2 separate regions of the Homo sapiens genome follow, and region 2 is linked to region 1. Evidence: promoter capture Hi-C in 16 types of primary human blood cells and fetal thymus (Javierre and others, 2016). All regions are on one chromosome and are shown on one strand. The core of a region is centred on a gene start or on the middle of the fragment in contact, and the rest is flanking DNA. Distances in the headings are between cores, read along the strand shown. Region 1 holds the start of EDN3 (endothelin 3). Region 2 has its middle 34 kb from the start of GNAS.

Region 1 (4,221 bases), core at 309-2,808:
AGGGCTAGGCAGGATGGGATGGGAGTGGGGGGATGGAGAACTTCAGCATCAGCTTCAGTGCTGGAAGCTTGAGTGCTACTCTAGTTACTGCAGCTCTGTACCAATTTACCCAGAGTTTAGTGCTGTAAAACAACCATTTATTATGCTCATGGATTGTGTGGGTGGGAAGTTCGGACAGGGTACAGCGGGACAGCTATTCCTCAGTTGGAAGTCTTGAGGGCTGGGAGCTCAAATCATCGGAAGGCACATTCACTCAGGTCAGTGGCTGACACTGGTGGTCGGCTGGGAGGCCTCGGTTTCTCTCCACGTAGGTTTCTCCAGGTGATCTCTCCAGGTGGGCTTGTTAGGGCTTCCTCCTGGTACAGCAGCTGTGTTCAGAGGACAGGTGTCCTGAGCTATCAAGCCAGGGGGATGTTGTAGCACTCTTTTGGACTGTCCTCAGAAACTGCTCTGGTCACTTCAGCTGCTTTCTAGTTTTCAGAAGCTGGTCGTTAAGGCTAGTAGAGGGCAGGACCCAATTCAACCCCATTTTTTAGAGATGAGGTCTCGCTATGTTGCCCAGGCTGGTCTTGAACTCCCAGGCTCAAGCAATCCATCCACCTTGGCCTCTCAAAGAGCTGGAATTACAGATGTGAAGCACTGCCCCTCCCCCAACCCCATCTGTTATGAAAGGAGGGTCCTTTGACCACAAGTGCCCTGAGAAGTCAGGAGGACTTCCCAGTCTCAGACATTTTTATCTGAGCTGGAGATGGGGACAGCCTCCCACACACAGGACTTGGAAGGCTATGAAGGAAGTAGGGGGCTCTCTTGGGAGGTCATTTCCCTTGGTAGGGACGGTTGTGTGAATGAACTTGGCCTTTAGGGAGAGGAGCCCGACTCTCACCTGAAGCCACCCAACCTGTGCAGATGGCTGAGGAAGCCCTGGACACCACAGGACCGCTAACCCAGGATCTTTGTTGACTTTGCTCCCAGGCCACTGCCCCACACGCAGGCTCTGAACTCCTGGGAGAGGTAGGGAGCCAGCCCGAGGCGTGAGTCAAGAGTGTAAAGTACACCGAGTTCCTTGGCAAGCAGGCTCTTCAAGGGGAAGGTGTCACTCGGGGAACAATGAGAAATGTGTCTTTCCCTCAGCCCCTGATAGAAAAGATAACACCCCTTGAGCACAGCCTTTTCTCATCTGTTCTTGCTCTTGGATGGGGGGCTGCTACTCCGGAGCGGCGAACTGGCGGGCGGGGGTGCGCCTGTGAGTGTGAGCGCGCGTGTGCGTGTGTGCGCGCGCTCTCGTGGCCTTCCGGCAGCTGGCAGCTGTCCCGGCCCCCACCCCACCCTACCCCACCCCACCCAGCCGCGCCACGCCACGCCGCCCCCGCCCCTCGCTGTCCTGGGTGCGCCTCGGGCCGCTGCGCTCCTGGCCAGCTCCCCCCAGCGCCTGGGAGGCGACCCCCAGTGCGCCCGGGTTCAAAGGCCCGGCGAGGCAGTTCCAGCCCCTCTGGGGGGCGGGGAGGCGACGGGGGTGGTGCAGAAGCCAGAAAAGCCCGAGCCACAGCCGGCCAGCTCCGCGCAGGGATGGGCAGCGCGCTCTGAAAGTTTATGACCGCCGCAGCCAACTCCTGGCCGGAGCTGGAGACGCAGCGAGCGATCGGCCGGCCTCGAACCCCCACAGCTGGAGGGCGAGGCCAGCTGTACCCGGCCCCAGTGCCCTTTCGCGGCCACAAGCGGCCGTCCTCCTGGTCCGGTGCTCCGGCGCCTGATCTAGGTTCATGGAGCCGGGGCTGTGGCTCCTTTTCGGGCTCACAGTGACCTCCGCCGCAGGTAAGCGCACGGGGCGGCGCGCCTCTCCTGGCGCGAGCGCACACAAAAGGACCCAGGGCGGGGGACCCGAGGCGCGGAGAAGATGTGCGTCGCGGGGAGCAAACTCTTGCCTGGGCTCTGCACTCGTGAAGACGCCTGGGGGAGGGCTGGGGAGCAGAAGCGGCGCGCAACGACTACCCGCACGGGCTCCGGGAGTTGCAGCCCGCGCACTGGCTGGAGACCTGCTGCCTGGGCCGACTTGGTCAATTTTTCATGAAACTGGGGACTTTTCAGAAAGTTTGCGAACTATTCAGAGGCTGTGCCAAACCCTGGCAAAGTTTGCAGAAAGTATGCAAAATGCATGCAAGTTTTCAACGGGTGCAGATAGCTTGCAAGCTTTTCACAGAGTGTGCAGATAGCTTGGAAACTTTTCAGAAACTGCGCAGAGCTTTGGAAACTTTGCAGACATTTTGCTTGCTCCACCCCCCTCCTCAGGTGTTTGGGGGTGGCGGGTGTTGAGGGGTCTGCACACTCAGCTTAGGAGCCCCTCAATCTGCCTTCTGCAGGATTCGTGCCTTGCTCCCAGTCTGGGGATGCTGGCAGGCGCGGCGTGTCCCAGGCCCCCACTGCAGCCAGATCTGAGGGGGACTGTGAAGAGACTGTGGCTGGCCCTGGCGAGGAGACTGTGGCTGGCCCTGGCGAGGGGACTGTGGCCCCGACAGCACTGCAGGGTCCAAGCCCTGGAAGCCCTGGGCAGGAGCAGGCGGCCGAGGGGGCCCCTGAGCACCACCGATCCAGGCGCTGCACGTGCTTCACCTACAAGGACAAGGAGTGTGTCTACTATTGCCACCTGGACATCATTTGGATCAACACTCCCGAGTAAGTCAGCCTTTTGTGGTGAGGAACGTGGCTCCCGGACCAGGCCCACATCTGCTCATTCCCAGGAGGACCTCACTCCACCCCAGCCCCGCTCAGTTAGCCCAGAGCCTGCCCTGGCACAGCCTTTAGCTCTTGCTGGGGCCTCTTGCCAGCCCAGGTCTCTTCTGCAGGTCAGGGGTGTGACCCACATCCCCCCTGAGGGCCTGGCCCAAGAGAAACTCAATCCTGAGTTTGATCCTGTGGAAGGAGGAGCCCTCCCTCTGAATGAAGTGAACTGACCAGGGGGATTAGATACCTGAGATGTCTCTCTGAGCCTCTTTTCTGAGATAGAGAAAGCCCCGAAAGTTTATCTCATTCCCCAGGGGCCAAGGGGGCTCATACTCACTGTTGACCCCACCAGGATCCAAGGGGTTTAAAATTCCTTGAAAGCATCCTGGTCTCCAGGGAGTCTAAGGGTGGGTTTAGCTGAGCCTGACAGAACCTGCACAGTCCACTCGGGGTAGAATTCCCCTGGGATGGGCTCCCTTCCTTCCTGTGGGCCCCCCTGGATGCCAAGGCAGGGTGAATTCACATCAGCTCGTCCTTGGGCCTTCCACAGGCTGGCTCCAGTCACCCACTGCCATGGTCACAGAGGGCCTTCCCTTCTCTCCTGCAGTCCTTAGAAACTCTCTTACCCTAGGGCCTAGACAGCACCATCCTGAATTTGTCTTGGGGTTCGTCCAGTGGGGAAGTCAGCCTTCTCCTGGGGCCATGTGGAGAGAGTGTGGCTCTGACAGGGGGAGGCTTTGATGACTCCCAGTGTTCAGGGAACCCCTCCTGCAGGCACATCATCTTGCAGGCCATACAGAGGGCTTGACCTTGCCTGGGTCACCAACTCTCTGGCATTGGCTTCCCCATCTCTAAGATCTGGGACTTGGATCAGACACCTCTAAGTTCTGTTCCCTGGGTGTTCATGGGATCTCTTGGGACTCTTGCTTGTACCCTATTAGGGATTCTTAGCTGAGAACTCAGAGATGGTTGTGAATGCAAGCCCCTGGAAGCCTGGAAAGGCACCTTTGCCACCGTGTCCCGGAGCCGTCTTGATTCAGGTTCCTCACGGTCACCTTTATCCCCAAGCCCCATAACCTCTGAGCCCTTGGTAGCAGCTTTCATGGGGCTCACTTACCTACCTTGTGTCATCGGCACCTCAAAAATGAAGTGCAGACGAGGGTAGTAAACCTGAGGGGTGGAATGTCTTTCAGACCAGGGGACAAGACCTCTAATCACATCCATGATAGATCTGGAACATCACCCCACCATGCTTGAAGGGCAGGCAGGGGCTTCACATTGAGCCAGCAGGACACGTGCACAAAGTCCTGCACTCAGAAAGACTCTGGCTCGGCTTAAAGTCCTGCTGTCACTGTCTTGAAATCCTTAATACTTTCTGAACAAAGAGCTGCACATTTGCATTTTCTCCTGGGTCCCATAAATTCTGTAGCTGGTCGTGATACCCTGATTTGCTGGCTGGGCTGTGTCCACCTAGAGGATGGGAGGTGCCTCCCTGTTTCTTTC
Region 2 (4,209 bases), core at 977-3,476, 440 kb before region 1:
TCGTGCAAGCCTTCGGGGGCTGCTTCGGTCGATCTGAGAGTCCCCAGCCCAAAGCCTCGCGCTCTCTCAAGGTCAAGAAGGTACCCCTGGCGGAGAAGCGCAGACAGATGCGCAAAGAAGCCCTGGAGAAGCGGGCCCAGAAGCGCGCAGAGAAGAAACGCAGTAAGCTCATCGACAAACAACTCCAGGACGAAAAGATGGGCTACATGTGTACGCACCGCCTGCTGCTTCTAGGTAATGCGGCGGACTCTGCCTGCGGGCAGCAGGGCCGCCGGGGAACCGGGGAGGGGGTGGCAGGGCTGCCTGGTGGGGCTAGGGGCTCCGCAGTGGGAGGAGGGGGTCCAGCCAAAGGCGGGAAGAACTTGCTAGAAAGTTCCAGGGAGGGACCCTAACTGCCCTGGGAGCGGGAGGGGATCTTTGGTGGATTCGGGTGGCCGAAGTATATGCCCTCCAGGGAGAAAAGTGGTGCCGAGCGACACTGAGGGTCGTTTCCGGCTGGACAGGCCAGCGCCAGCAACCGTAAGCTGGACAGGCAGGGGCTTCAGGTGAGCCAGGAACTGCCGGGGAGGGGCCCCGGGGCCCCGGGACTCCCCTGGCTAGGCTGGTGGGGTCCACGGTGGGCTGGGGTCATTGGGGAAGGCGCGCCCCGCCTCGCCTGGCACGGCTGCTTGGACTCAGACAGCTTGTCGTTGGTGTGTGTTGGTGTCCATATTCTGTGTTCGCCTGTGCATGATACGCTGAAGTGTCCCCTGTTCCTATCCCGGCACCCCCAAATTACCCGCCGACTGTGTACTTGTACTTGGGAACGGGCTGTGTTGTGGTTTGCGCCATGGCCCGGGCAAAAAACTTTCGCTGTTCGCACACTCTGGTGGTACCTGCGCCCGGGCGCTCTGCGGCAAGCGGTGCGGAGGACACGCGGGGAAGGTGGCGGGGCCTCCCGGGAAATAAGCGGGGCCCTTGGCCTGGGGGAGCGGGGAATCGCTTTTCGCCGGCCTCCGCGTAACCTTGTTTCTGTATGTCTTTCTCTCTTTTTCCTTTTGCGCTAAGCGTTTCCTCACTTCTCATTCGTTCGCCAAACCCTCCCGCCTTTACAGTTGAAAAACCAGACACACAGGTATCTGGGGCGCCCGGGGCTGCACACCTCAGTTCGGTATTCTGCACACACACAGCTCGCCTGGTCGGGGGATGGGGGAAAGGGGAAACACAACCTGCTGTAGGCAAGTCCGGATCCCAAACCACTTGGGGGCTGGTTCCAAGGGGGTGGGCGTGGCTGTGTTTAAAAAATATGAAATAATTTTTCTTCCTAGCGAAGAGCCCGAGGTAAGCCAATCATTTTTACAAAGAGTACAGTAGGAGGGGCTTGGTTTAAAAAGATGGGGGTTATGTGTTGTGAGTGGAATGTCACCTTTGTGTTTGAAATGCAACTAAAATAAAAGTTTTCAAAAAATGCTCTGAGTGTATTTGAAGTGTGTGGACAAAGTATGGCAAAACCGTGAATATGACTTGTGAAAACAAGTAAATGTTTGCATGTGAATTTTTTCAGGCAGCTTTAGCTGGGGGCAAAGAGGCTTGTCAAAGGTAAGGTCTTCTGCAAATTGGCTCTGGATACAAAAAATATATAAAGGTATTTTGATTACAGAAGTTAAAAATCATGATATTCTTGTCAGGAGGGTATTTTGGTGGCCTTCTACCTTCCCCCTCCTCCTCTGCTCACATTTCCCCACCTCTCGGTGCCCTCCCCTCTCCAGGATCCCCCTCCTCACCCCACAGCAAGACCCTCTCCTGTATCTCCCAGTCTTTCCCTGGCCATTCCCAGTTCCCCACCCTCCCCCCAGCCCCCCAAGACTTCTTAACTTCAAATCTGGGGCATTAAATATTTTTGCCACATTTAAACAAAGCATCAATTAGCAATGGTCTGAATATGTGGTTTAAATGAAAACTTCCAAACAAACTTCACAAGCTTAATTTTTACATTTTATTCTCTAAGACTTTCTCTAAGACCTTCCAAGGGATTTCAAGATCACAGTTTTTAAGGCTGCGCTACATTTGTTAAATATGTTAGAATGTGTGATGGTTTTTTATTAATGGCATTATTGGCATATAACTGTGCTATTGTGATGTGGCTCTCACAAATCACAATTTTAAATGTGAGGATCATTTTGTGTATGCCCATCCAGGTAGATCATGACATTGTCATTTACCTAAAGACATATAATATGGTCGTTGTTTTAAATTTCAAATGTCTCAACTACACTAAAGCTACCAAACATTAAATGACAATGCACTGGTTTCCCTGCAGACAACTGATTTTGCCATAACAGACCCATTTCAATATTCCAAGCACAGCTCTGGGAAGCAAACCTGTAGATTGGGGGTGGGAGGACATAAATGCATACAGACAGGAGACCCAAGTGACAGTGTGCACCTGACCCCTAATTGTCAAATTGGTGATGTGCCTTACATGCGGGGCCTCAGTTGCCTCCTTTGTGAAATGAAGCTTTCCTAGCAGATCTCCACTAAGGAATGCTTTTGCACCATGATTTGAGTCTTCTATTCTTCCTGGAGGTGGGGGGTGGAGGAGACACAGTCTACTTACATCAGGACTGGAGACTTATACCATAGATTGTGCAGCCATCAATCCTGCAGCAAACTGTCCATGTTTGGGACCAGTCTTAAGAATATTAGAAGTTTCCTTTGTCTCCCCTTATTTTGTCACCAGGAGTAAAAATTAACTTTAAGAAAAGGAAATTTGCTGGGGTCACCTTGTACCTTGTCCTGGCTTTGTTCTCGGGTGCTGGTAGCCAAACACCTTTGGATGCAGCATAGTCCAGAAGGTGGGCTGGCAAACCATGGGCCATGTCTAACATAAGCCTGAAATATGATAGCCAGTGTTAGCTGCTAGCTGAAACTGTACCACTGCAGTTTGTCAAAGCAGGCTACAGTTTTTGACCAGGCTTCCTTTTGCAGAGGTGACGTACCTCTTCTGGACCTGAATTATTGATGGGGGACAGGGAGAGGAGGAAGGATGAGGACTTACTCACATGTAGGACAAGACTTTTTACTAACTTTTTAGTCCCAACATATAAAACAAGACATCCATACATCCCTACCACTGAAAATGCAGATCAAATGGCTGTCCTTTGATATGGTTGCTAATTTGTGACATGCAGATTCATCTGTTGCTTGAAAAAATGTATGTTCATGTGCTTATCCTTTCTGTTTTTATTGCCGGGACAATTTAATCTCATTACAGGGAATCCTAAGAAATCAAAGAGAGAGAGAGAGAGAGAAAGATAGATAGAAATCAGTAATATGATTAAAATTCTAAAATATCTAAAGAGTTCTTTTTAAAGAAGCCTTTTTCTTACTCAACACTATCCACCAATAGACTGTTTCCATGTTTCTGTTACGTTTTTAAATAATTTTGGTGGCTTAAACATTTTTTAAAACTTCATTTAGGTGTGATTTCCTCCTTAAGAACTGAATGGGGCTAATAGATCAGAGTTTCTTAGTATCTGCCACATTTATTAAAATTGTGTAGGCAAATGCTATATATAATAATGGCTATTCTGCTATGATGCTTTATTTATACAGTGAATCACAATTAATTGTATGATTATTTATGCCACCAAGTGCAACAGTATGCATTGTATTCCATCTTGCAGAAGCACCTTTTTATTTTTCTTTTCTCTCTCTCTCTCTCTCTTTTTTAACATACAGCCATTTTTTTATATTCTAAATGCCTCCACTGAGCTTTTGGTGTGGTAGGAAGGACATGGCTTATCAGGCCACAAAATTTTGGAGTCCAGATAGATTTATTATTTTCTCTTTTCAGTCTCCTAGTAAGATTCATGCTTCTCAAAGTCTGAAATTCTACCTTGGTTTTAATTCTTACAGATTTCTCTCAAAAAAAATTTTCCCATATAGGTAGATTAATGTTTAAAATTTACCCCCATTATTTACAATGGAAAACTGGTTTTAAGCAAAAAGAATTGGGGGTCATCCCCTTACTGTATGTATCCTCCTAACTTGAAAAGGAAAATCTCACTGCTCTCAGTATGATTAGTAACCAGTAATAATAATAACACATTCTGATTACATTTTTTGTTTGTTTGATTTGAAACAAAGTCTCCCTCTGTCACCCAGGCTGGAGTGCAATGGCAGGATTTCTGCTCACTGCAACCTCTGCCTCCCAGATTCAAGCAATTC

The links. The method cuts DNA at HindIII sites, captures the fragments that hold promoters and counts their contacts. A CHiCAGO score of 5 or more calls a contact.
Region 2: a fragment that was not itself captured here is called in contact with the fragment with the promoter of EDN3 in region 1 in 4 of 17 cell types (total CD4 T cells, naive B cells, naive CD4 T cells and 1 more); the score reaches 6.4 in total CD4 T cells.

The regions. Positions count from the first base shown.
Region 1 is chr20:59,299,053-59,303,273 of GRCh38, forward strand. It overlaps EDN3 (endothelin 3), which reads left to right and starts at 1,559. Exons shown (of 5, transcript NM_207034.3): 1 at 1,559-1,812; 2 at 2,358-2,670. The coding sequence starts at 1,761. The HindIII fragment of the contact is 2,120 bases long and covers 66-2,185 here.
Region 2 is chr20:58,855,100-58,859,308 of GRCh38, forward strand. It overlaps a transcript of GNAS not described here. Among named protein-coding and RNA genes, the nearest start is that of GNAS, 34 kb to the right of the region's middle. RefSeq lists enhancers at 1-368, 369-1,244. The HindIII fragment of the contact is 537 bases long and covers 1,959-2,495 here.